Linked DNA regions of Homo sapiens: all the other regions are linked to region 1. Evidence: promoter capture Hi-C in 16 types of primary human blood cells and fetal thymus (Javierre and others, 2016). All regions are on one chromosome and are shown on one strand. The core of a region is centred on a gene start or on the middle of the fragment in contact, and the rest is flanking DNA. Distances in the headings are between cores, read along the strand shown.

Region 1 (2,590 bases), core at 49-2,548:
TTTTGTGCTTGAAAGTATAATAAATGGGATATCATCTTTACTCTTGCCATAATGCTAAGACGCAAATATTTGAATTCTGAATTGCAGGCCAGAGGAAGCAGAAACTTCCCTATGGAGAGAGATGGCGGAGTTTGCCATTGAGTTCTCTCTCCTTGCTTAAAAGATCCAAGCTGTGCTTTTTGAAGGCTTCAGACTGCAGCCTGAGTTCATCGTAGGCCTTCTGGATCCCATCTACTTTGCGCTGAAGCTCCCTGACTCTCAAGTTGCTGTCCACAGCCACTGCCTCTTGCTCAAACCGCTCCAGCGCATGCTTCCTGTCTTCATTTGCTATCTCCAACTTTTCCTCAAGCTGGCAGATCTCTGCCTGTTTGTTCTGAAGCACTTTGCCCCTTTCAATGGACAGCTGCAGCAACTCCTCTTTCTCTCTAGTGACGGTCTGCAGCCTGGCCTGCAGCTCCTGGCTCAGGCTGCTGTGTGTCTCCTCTGCCTTAGCTATCTGCTCCACAGCCTGCTGGTGCTGCTGCTTGAGGGTCTGCAGCTGGCTGCGCAGCTGTTCTGTCTCCTTGGTGTGGGTGCAGGCCTGCTGGCTCTGTAGCTCCAGCAGCTCCTTCTCGCGCGCCTGTGCCTGGCAGGCATCCTGAGCACACCTCTCCTTCAGCGTTTCTAGCTCCCCAGTGAGGGCCTCACACCGGACTGTGAGCTGTAATACTTTCGCCTCCTCATCCTTCAGAGCCTGGCTGAAGAGGCTGCTATTCTCCAGCCTCAGCTTCTCATTCTCCTCCCTCAGCTTGATGTTCTCACTCTTGTATTCATCCTTGAAGCGGAGCATCAACTCGTGGTTGGCTGCTAGGGTCATAAAGCGTTCCTCTAGTTTCCGACTGTACTCACCCTGGGCCTTGAGCTTCTCAGCCTCCTGCATCATCTTCTCCTCCAGCTCTGCATTGAGCAGCTCTAGGATCTGGCAGCGCTCCAGGGCCTCATCTGACCTCCGCTTCAGGATGCAGATGAGCTGGGACTGCTCTTCAATGCGGGAGCGAAGCATAGCCTTCTCGCTCCTCTCCTCCTCTGACAGTCCCCGGAGGTTTGCCAAGGCTTCCCTCAGACCGTCCAGTTCCTTAAACTCCGTCTCCTCTTCCTGGTTGTTCAGTTTTTCATTTTGCTTCTCTAAGCGTTCTTCAGGGGGCGGGGTGTCCATCCTGGGAGCCTGCTGTTTCTGGAGCATAGGCGCTCTCATCCACTAAGGGCTGACTACAGTCTTTTCCCCTCAGATTTCAAACGCTGCAGGGTGTTGCTAGGGACTCTTGGCACTCCCCAGCAGTTGGTTTTTCCAGTAAGGAGCCCTGTAATTGGTGGACAGGTCTTCAGAATGCTATGAAGTAACAACAGGGGAATCTGGGGGAGTCCAGAGCCAATCTGGTCGGGTTACTTTTGCCTTTCTAACCAATCACAGCTCTCAGTTGTCAACTGTCTCAGTGTCTGGCCTGTACAGCACAGAGATGCCAACCCCACTCAATCTCCAGCCAGCATCAGGGGAGGAAGCCTGACTCCACCTAATTTCTGGTAGTAGTAAACAAATGAAGCAGGCAATGATATATTTATCCTCCCTCTCCCCTCTTCAGTTATCGTTTGAATAAATTACTGTTTGTGGAAACATGGTTGGCTCCTCAAAAAATTTCAGTCTATGAATACAAAGTAGTAGTGGTATTCTGAGAGCCAGGACCCTAAAAGCCTGCATATCTGCACCCGTGATGTTTGGCACAGCTCCCTTTTGGTATTTAAGTATTAAAATAGAAAACACCAGTGAAATTTCTTTTGTTGTTCTTAGCATTGTCCCCACCTGGGCATAAATACTCTTTATTAGATATTTAACACCCCCTGTTTTTACCCATTAGCAAAATAAGGTTACAGAAAGAAGCTTAGTGAACCACACAGATAAACATTAAAACAGAAAAAATAAGATTCAAATGAAGCTTGCCATTATATGCCAAAGTCAACTCCTGATAGATTAGTTAAATGTAAACAGAAACTAGAAGAAAATGAAGGTAAACATCAAATCTCTGGGGCTAGGAAGGATTTTTTTTTTATCTTAAACATTATGTAAGATCAGAAAGGGAAAGCTTACTCAAAAAGTTATGTATAATTTTTTAAATTATGTGACTTCTGAGGTCTCTCCAGCCCCTTCTTCCACTGGATTTTCTTGACATTTTACTCCTCAAACCCAAATATTGAAGCCAAACCCAAATCCACTAACCAGCTCTCTCGCCCTATCTTTAGGTGTTCCTCTACTTGGAATGCCTTTCCTACTTTGTCCCTTGTCACTCTAGTAAAGCTTTTTATTCTTAGTTAAGAATCGTCTCTGAAGCCTATTCCTGGCCCCTACATGTCCAATTGGTCACTCACATCTTTTAGTGCATCCGCTATAGCTATTTGTACTTCTGGTGGAGGATGTGAAAATTTTATTGCAGTCACTGTTTATCTGCCAGCTTCCCTCTGTTAGACTGTAAGATCCTTAAGGGCAGGGACTGTGTCTATTTCATCCTTGATGATTAGACTAGTGCCTGGCACATGGGGGAGATTCAGATAAATGTGT
Region 2 (2,590 bases), core at 45-2,544, 600 kb after region 1:
TGTGAAACACAGTAACCTAGGGAAAATGAGTCTAGATGGCTTTTACCAAGGGTAGTGGAAGTGGGGCCCACATTGTGAGAAATACAACCATAAGTAAAAAGTGCTAAATGGCCTCTCTTTAACCAGAGACCACAGTCTGTAACTTCCCCTGCTTTCAGTGGTTACCTCTGGGTTTCCCCTGTTGTGATTTATAGAAAATGACTATCACTTTGGAATTGAGCTGGTGGATTTCTACAAAGATTCTTGGTATTTCATGGTTATTTTCTGATGTAGAGCAAGACTTCATGTGAATGAAAGCAGATTCATTTTGCCTTTCTTGCTTGGGTACCCCAGGCTGATGTGGAATAAAAAATTGTTGGGTGATTTCTCTTACATTTCTGCATAATGAGTGAGGGAAGTGTGTGTGTTTAATTCCGAAACCAATAAACTGGGTTGCCAGAAAATCATTGATCATAAGAAGTGTATGGCACTGAACTGACACCCTGTGCTATATGGGCCATTATTTTTCTTCATTGCAAAATCACTATTTTTTATTTATTTATTGTTTTTGAGACAGAGTTTTGCTCTTGTTGCCCAGGCTGGAGTGCAATGGCGCAATCTCAGCTCATGGCAACCTGTGCCTCCTGGGTTCAAGCGATGCTCCTGCCTCAGCGTCCTGAGTAGCTGGGATTACAGGCATGCGTCTCCATGCCTGAATTTTGTATTTTTAGTAGAGATGAGGTTTCTACATATGGGTCAGGCTGGTCTCGAACTCCCGACCTTGACCTCCCAAAGTGCTGGGATTACAGGCATGAGCCACCGCGCTCAGCCATGCAAAATCACTTTTTAAACTGTTAATATTTCATATAAGAAAGGCTTGGCTTATCTTACTGAATCTGGTTGCAAATTGTCTTAATAATCCCAGTTCTGAATAGCAACCTGCAGGGGATGGTGGCTCAGGCCTGTAATCCCAGCACTTTAGAAGGCTGATGCAGGAAGATCACTTGAGCCCAAGAGTTTGAGACCAGCCCTGGCAACATAGCGAGATTCCATCTCTACAAAAAACAACTAGCCAGGTGTGGTGGCACATGCCTGTAGTCTTAGCTGCTTGGAAGGCTGAGGCAGGAGGATCGCTTGAGCCTTGAGCCATGATCCCGCCACTGCACTCCAGCTCTGGTGACAGAGCGAGACCCTGACTCTAATGAAAAATAATAAAATGAATAACTTATGTAAGAGTTCTGCATTATTCCCCTTAATCCCTGAGTAAATCTGGCTGAAATACAGAGTTTGTGACCCTTGGGAAGTCAAAACTCTCTGTGAAGGACCCTTCAAAATACTTTTTTGCCTTTGCTCTAAAATGTTAGCTCCTAGTAGACAGGAGAGAATCATTTATTCATGTATTTAATTGGCCAGGTGTGCAAAGCACTGTATTAGTGATGGCCCTATATAGACCTTTATTATGCAGTGGTTCCCACATGTGAAAAGAGTGAATGTACCATAATCATTTAGGGAGTATTTTAATAATAAACTCTCAAAAGTTTTGCTAAACTGCAATTTTATATTGGCTGGGCACAACACAAAACAGCCCAAAGTAGATATAATTATATAAAGTTGATTTCAGCCCAGCCCAGCCCAACTTTCCACAGTCAACTTGAAATTTTCTCACTGTTACTAACTGGTGTCTTTCAAACCCATGTCCAAGGTTACGGGTGGGAGTGGTAGAGAATTGTCACTAGCTCTGCCGCCTATTGAATTGCTTCTGTGTCTAGGATTTAGCAGTTCCTGTCCCAGACTGGGGCCTGACTCAGCTTTCTGCCAGGACTCTTCTCGTCTGTGGCTGTGCTTTCTAGTCTTCTGGGCCATAATCAAGGCCAGTACATCCAAGACGCCAGCTGTGAACAGACTAGGATTTGATAGGGCCCCTCACTGTCTGATGCCTCTTTCTGGTGGCCTTGCCAGGTTTAGAACAGGCAGCCTGCTAGGCTGCCTTCCTGGTAGTAGAGGCTTTCCAGGTAGTCAGGCTGCTTTCTACATGCATGATGTTGGGCTCAGTTAATATTTGTAAAACAAATGTCCTCTGGAAAGGGCTCTGCCTTTCTGAGTTACTGCCTCTCTTCTACCTCCTTTAATGACCTGCTCATTTTAGCATCTCATTGAAATGCACACATCTTGTGGTTTCCTATGCTCTAAAATCAGTGCCAGACTAAGAGCTCTTCAAACAGGAGCCTTTCCCCCCTCCCCGTCCTTTTTTTTTTTTTTTGAGACAGAGTATCACTCTGTCGCCCAGGCTGGAGTGCAGTGGTACGATCTCCATTCACTGAAACCTCTGCCTCCTGGGTTCAAGAAGTTCTCCTGTTTCAGCCTCCCAAGTAGCTGGGACTACAGGTGCACACCACCACGCCCAGCTAATTTTTGTATTTTTAATAGAGTCGGGGTTTCACCATATTGGTCAGGCTGGTCTCGAACTCCTGATCTCAGGTGATCCACCCGCCTTGGCCTCCCAAAGTGCTTGGATTACATGCATGAGCCACCGCGCCTGGCCCTTTCCTTATTTTTTGAATGCCCGTTGCTTAACACACTATATGACTCATAATAGACATTCAAAGAAATG
Region 3 (2,590 bases), core at 42-2,541, 580 kb after region 1:
TGATTCTACTATAATTTTTTCTTTTAACTTTTTACATTTCCATTCTTCCTTCAGGCCATTTATTTCTCAGAAAATCCATTTTCCTGATTTTTCTACCAGAGACATACATAGGAATTATGTTGATTGTGTGCGATGGTTAGGCGATTTGATACTTTCTAAGGTATGGTAACTGCAGTTAAGCTGTACTTCCATCGTGTGTGTGTGTGTGTGTGTGTGTGTGTGTGTATGTGTGTGCGCATGTTGGAACTTGGCAGGGAGCACTTTATGTAGTTTATTAAATTGAATGGCAGCTGGGAAGTTGCCTTTTTTAAAGTCTCATATTTTGATATATTTAGAAACTTGTTTTAAGAATAAAACATGCCATTGAATTATAATTCTTTGTGCTCCAGTAAGATGAGTATAGTTTTATAAGGTGATAGTATTCTCTGATAGTCAGTATTGTTACAAGATAACCAGTAACTAAAGCCAACAGAATTGGCTTTTGTTTTTTTGTATCTCTGTGACTATTTTAGTAAAATTTTATTTATAAAAACAGGTGGCTGGAGTTGGCTTATGGGCTGTAGTTTGCCAACCCCTGCCCCTGTTGATGGATTTATACAGATGCTCCTCAACTTATGATGGGATTACATCGTGATAAACCCATCATAAATTGAAAACGCATTTAATACACATAACCTACTGAATATCAGCTTAGCCCAGCCTATCTTAAATGTGCTCAGAATTAGCCTACAGTTGGGCAAAATTATCTAACACAAAGCCTGTTTTATAATAAAGCATTGAATATCTCACATACTGCATACTGCTAGCCCAGGAAAAGATCAAAATTCAAAATTCCAAGTACTTCAAAATTGCAGCTGTTTTGTACCATTTTGGTAAAGTTGAAAAATTGTAAATCAGACCATTGTAAGTCAAGGCCATCTGGGTGTGTGTGTGTGTGTGTTTGTGTGTCTGTGTATTTTTTTGTAGCTGATAATTTAGAGAAGCTATTGGTGATGTTACATGAGCATTTAGGATTATCAAATTTGGTGAAATTGCTGTCCGGTTTCTTTTCTTGATGTGAATTTCAGGCCACTTCACATTTTCTTGGGCAGAGCCTGATTTACTTTTTTCTTGGCTTTATGTGTAAACTGTTTTTTTCTTTTTTCTTTAAACTTTTGACCTTCAAATAACTTGATTCATAGGATGTTTCAAAGATTGTGCAGAGAGGTCCCATATGATCTTTATCCAGAATCCAAAGTTTATATATTATATAACTGTAATACAATATCAAATCCAGAAAATTGACACTGGTACAATGTGTGTGTTTAGTTTTATGTCATTTTATCACGTGAATTTTGTCATTTCAAGAATGGTACAGTTTGGGACCTTTTAAGATTGTTTTTTTCCACTCAAACCCTTGAGATCCATCCAGGTTGTTGCCTGTATCAGTAGTTCTCCTTTTTTATTGCTGAGTAGTATTCCATGGTATGGATTACCATAGTTTATGTAACTATCTATGGTAGGAGGTTTTGGTCATTTCCAGTTCTGGGCTATTGCAAATAAAGCTGCTAATCAGCAGTTGTGTCCAGGTTTTTGTGTGGACTTAAGTTTTCATTTCTCTGGGTAAATGCCTAGGAGGGCAATTGCTGGGTTGTGGTTAAGTTTGTTTAGTTTTTTAAGAAACTGCCAAACTATTTTCCAGAGTGGCCGTGCCATTTTACATTCCCACCAGCAATGTATGAGAGATCCAGTGTCTCCGAATCTTCGCCAGCATTTGGTATTGTCATTATTTTTTATTTTAGCTGTTCTGATAGGTGTGTAGTGATATCTCATCGTGGTCTTAATTTGCATTTCCCTGATGGCTAGTGATGTTGAACATCTTTTTCATGTGCTTATTTACCATTCGTATATCCTTTTTGGTGATGTCTTTTCATATCTTTTGCTCATTTTCTAATTGGATTGGTTTTTTGTTGTGTTTTTTTTTTTTTTTTAACTGTTGAGTTTTGAGAGTTTGAATATATTCTAAATATGAATCCTGTATCAGATACATAGTTTGCAAATATTTTCTTTCAGTCTGTAGCTTGTCATTTCATCCTCTTTAATAGGGTCTTTCACAGAGCAAATGTTTGTAGTTTTTATTAAATCCAGTATATTGATTTTTTAAAATTATTTTATGGATTATGCTTTTGATGTTTTGCCTGAGAACTCCTTACCAAGCTATAGACCTTAAAGATTTTCTCCTGTGTTCTCTTGTAAAAGTTTTATACTGCTATGTTTTACATTAAATGTGTAATCCATTTTGAGTTGATTTCCTTATGAAGGTGCGAGGTTTAGGTGGAAGTTCATTTTTCTCTTATAGATACTCAGTTGTTCCATCAGCATTTGTTGGAAGACTATTCTTCCGCCATTGAATTGCTTTTGCACCTCTCTCAGAAATTGTTTGGCTGTACTTACGTGGGGCTGTTTTTGATTTTCCTGTTCTGTTTCATCTGTATATCTGTCCCTCCACCAGTACTACATACACAGTCCTCATTATTGTAGCTCTATAATTATTCTTGGAATCTGATAGATTTTTCCCGCTTTTATTTTTTTCATAATTGTTTTGAGCTAT
Region 4 (2,590 bases), core at 49-2,548, 530 kb after region 1:
CACTCCTAAATTAAATGAGGGCTGGCTCTGTCCAAGAACACAATCTTTACTTTGTAGAGAAGGTATCTACCTCACAATTGGCTTTGCATTTCTCCAAATTCCAGACTTCTGCTGGCAGGATGTTCTAGTCCCAAAAGTGACTCCTGGCGAGGCCAGATTCTGTTCCCACCATAAGGGATGGAGCCTCACAAATATGCAGCTATGTGCCTTTGTAGTCTCAGCCTCTCAAGAGTACATTTTCTTTAGAAATAGTTATCCATCTCTGCCTGTTGGTAATCACTAATTAAAGGTTTGGGTAAGATTTCCTCGCAGCAAGAATCCTGCTATGAATTTCCTTCCTCCTAAATCTTAGTCCCTTGCGAGACCACACCAGATGCCAATCTTGTACAATTAGGAGGTGGATTCAGAATCTGCCAGGATTCTGAATCCTGCATGTGACTGCACAAGCTTCTCATCCAACACATACACAGAGGACGCTGGACAAACGCCTATGCTTTGCTGCCAGTTCATGCTGGGCTCCAAACCCTATCAGATCTCTTGCCTCAGCAGCTGGACTGAACAAAGTGGACTCCCTGAGGTTACTTTTGCCCTCCTGACTTGAGAACGTCCCAGACACCAATCCCAAGGCAGTGAAGAGATGAAAAGATGAAAGCATTACAAGAGTTAACAAAAGCCGAGTCGCCAGAGGTCACTGACGGGGAAAGTCTCTCAGCCCACTTCTGTTTATAACCACTTTATTCCTTCAACAGAATCCCCTGCAGAATCATTTCTCTAAAACCTCCATCTATATCTGAAATCCCCATTTTGTCCTGGAGTCTCTTCAGAGATCTTTTTTCTTTGGAAGGAAGGACGGAAGCCTTGAGCACCCCCTGGAGGTAGGCGTGTGCTAGTAAGCGTCTCCTTGGACTGTGGTTCTTTTTGTACCAGTTGGTAGTAGCTTTCGTACCAGTTCGTTGATACTTTTGTCACCTGGATTGCTGACTTTCGCTGGTTTCCAGTGCTGCCTCTAGGTGACCTATCTACAACTTCTATGACAGCTGACTGTCATAGGGGCTTCCACCTTCTTTGTATTCTAGCCTTGATAAGGGGAAGGATCCCTTGCCCTGCTGCAGAAATAAAACAGCCTGTTTCTCAGCCTTGTCCTCCATTTTCTCCTGTAAGACAGTTTGTTACTCATACAATTCTACTTGACATCTCTCCAACTTGCGTTGCTCCCTTCTTCTGTATCCTTATTACTGCTCTTCAATTTGTGTAAAATTATTGTCCTACCTTCAGCCCTTATCCTTATGAAAACCTTTTCCATTCTTTAAAAGCCCAGTTCACTGGCCACTTTCCCCACACCTACCTCTGAAATCCTGTAAAACTTATTTACAAAGTTCTTATCATACACTGCCTTGTATTTTAGTTATATCTGTATATATTATCTTACTGTATCCAACCAATTACCCAGCACGGTGTCTAAGATGCAGTATTCAGTTAATAATCATTAGATAAAAGTTGAATTAAGTTGTTGAGGGCTGTTTTCAAACACCCAATTTTCTAAGAATAGAGAAAACATTACTGTTAAAGATGAAAAAATACAAAGAAAGGAAGAAATAGAAGAAAGAGATGGGGCAGACAGAGATACAGGAAAGAATGGTGACTATGTAACTATAAGTCATGACGAATTCTCTCCTGAGAATACCAGTATGTTATAGAAAGAACACTGACTAAGTGTCAGAAAACTCAGCTCAAGTCCCATTTGGTTTTTAATGAACTGAATGATCACTAACCTACTCTCTGGGCCTCAGCGTTTTCTCTAAAGAACCAAAGCAGTGGGTTATATGACCTCTGAAGTTTATTACCATGTTGACATTGTATGACCATCTCTCTATTCAAGCATAGTGGTAGGATGGCGCTCAGATTGCACCTGTCACAGAGACTGGCATACTATGTGTGCTAATAAGTGCCAGTTCCTCTTTTCTTCGCACATAATGGAAATATTCTGCAACATTCTCAATTTTAATAAGGAGAAAAGTTCATCTTTATCCATTGAGGATAACATGGTAAAAGAGAATTGTACTACGTATTTAATTTAATTTTATGGAAGAATTTTTCAGTGGTTAAGTCTATTTTTAATTCCAGGTCTTGCCATATGCTGTTTCAAGGGGAAGCTTCTATTCTACAACAAACTACTTTTTGAGTCAAATGAAGAACTGAAAAATAGTTAGGCTTAAACAAATTCTTAGTCAACCACATCATGGTCTGGAAAGACACAAAAATCATTTGGCAAAGATTGCTCTAAATACAGTGAGAAAGGAGAAAGGCAGCAGGTGATGCCAATCAAAAAGGAGAATGCACTTTGGGAGGCTGAGGCGGGTGGATCACAAGGTCAGGAGATCGAGACCATCCTGGCTAACACAGTGAAACCCTCTCTCTACTAAAAATACAAAAAATTAGCCAGGCGTAATGGCGGGCGCCTGTAGTCCCAGCTACTCCGGAGGCTGAGGCAGGAGAATGGTGTGAACCCGGGAGGCAGAGGTTGCAGTGAGCTGAGATGGCGCCACTGAACTCCAGCCTGGGCGACAGAGCTGGACTCCGTCTCAAAAAA

What was found. The method cuts DNA at HindIII sites, captures the fragments that hold promoters and counts their contacts. A CHiCAGO score of 5 or more calls a contact.
Region 2: a contact is called between a fragment that was not itself captured here and the fragment with the promoter of CCDC89 in region 1, in 9 of 17 cell types (total CD4 T cells, naive CD4 T cells, naive CD8 T cells and 6 more). The highest score is 11.9, in total CD4 T cells.
Region 3: a fragment that was not itself captured here is called in contact with the fragment with the promoter of CCDC89 in region 1 in 8 of 17 cell types (total CD4 T cells, naive CD8 T cells, non-activated CD4 T cells and 5 more); the score reaches 11.7 in total CD4 T cells.
Region 4: a fragment that was not itself captured here is called in contact with the fragment with the promoter of CCDC89 in region 1 in 7 of 17 cell types (non-activated CD4 T cells, naive CD8 T cells, naive CD4 T cells and 4 more); the score reaches 13.3 in non-activated CD4 T cells.

Annotation. Positions count from the first base shown.
Region 1 is chr11:85,684,897-85,687,486 of GRCh38, forward strand. CCDC89 (coiled-coil domain containing 89) reads right to left here and starts at 1,299. Exons shown (of 1, transcript NM_152723.3): 1 at 1-1,299. The coding sequence starts at 1,234. The coding sequence ends at 110. RefSeq lists enhancers at 94-595, 596-1,095. The HindIII fragment of the contact is 2,434 bases long and covers 1-1,913 here.
Region 2 is chr11:86,287,173-86,289,762 of GRCh38, forward strand. It overlaps a transcript of EED not described here. Among named protein-coding and RNA genes, the nearest start is that of MIR6755, 10 kb to the left of the region's middle. The HindIII fragment of the contact is 5,987 bases long and covers 1-2,590 here.
Region 3 is chr11:86,268,402-86,270,991 of GRCh38, forward strand. It overlaps EED (embryonic ectoderm development), which reads left to right. Exons shown (of 12, transcript NM_003797.5): 9 at 55-160. Among named protein-coding and RNA genes, the nearest start is that of MIR6755, 8.6 kb to the right of the region's middle. The HindIII fragment of the contact is 6,326 bases long and covers 1-2,590 here.
Region 4 is chr11:86,217,786-86,220,375 of GRCh38, forward strand. No RefSeq gene overlaps it. Among named protein-coding and RNA genes, the nearest start is that of LINC02695, 26 kb to the left of the region's middle. The HindIII fragment of the contact is 1,706 bases long and covers 446-2,151 here.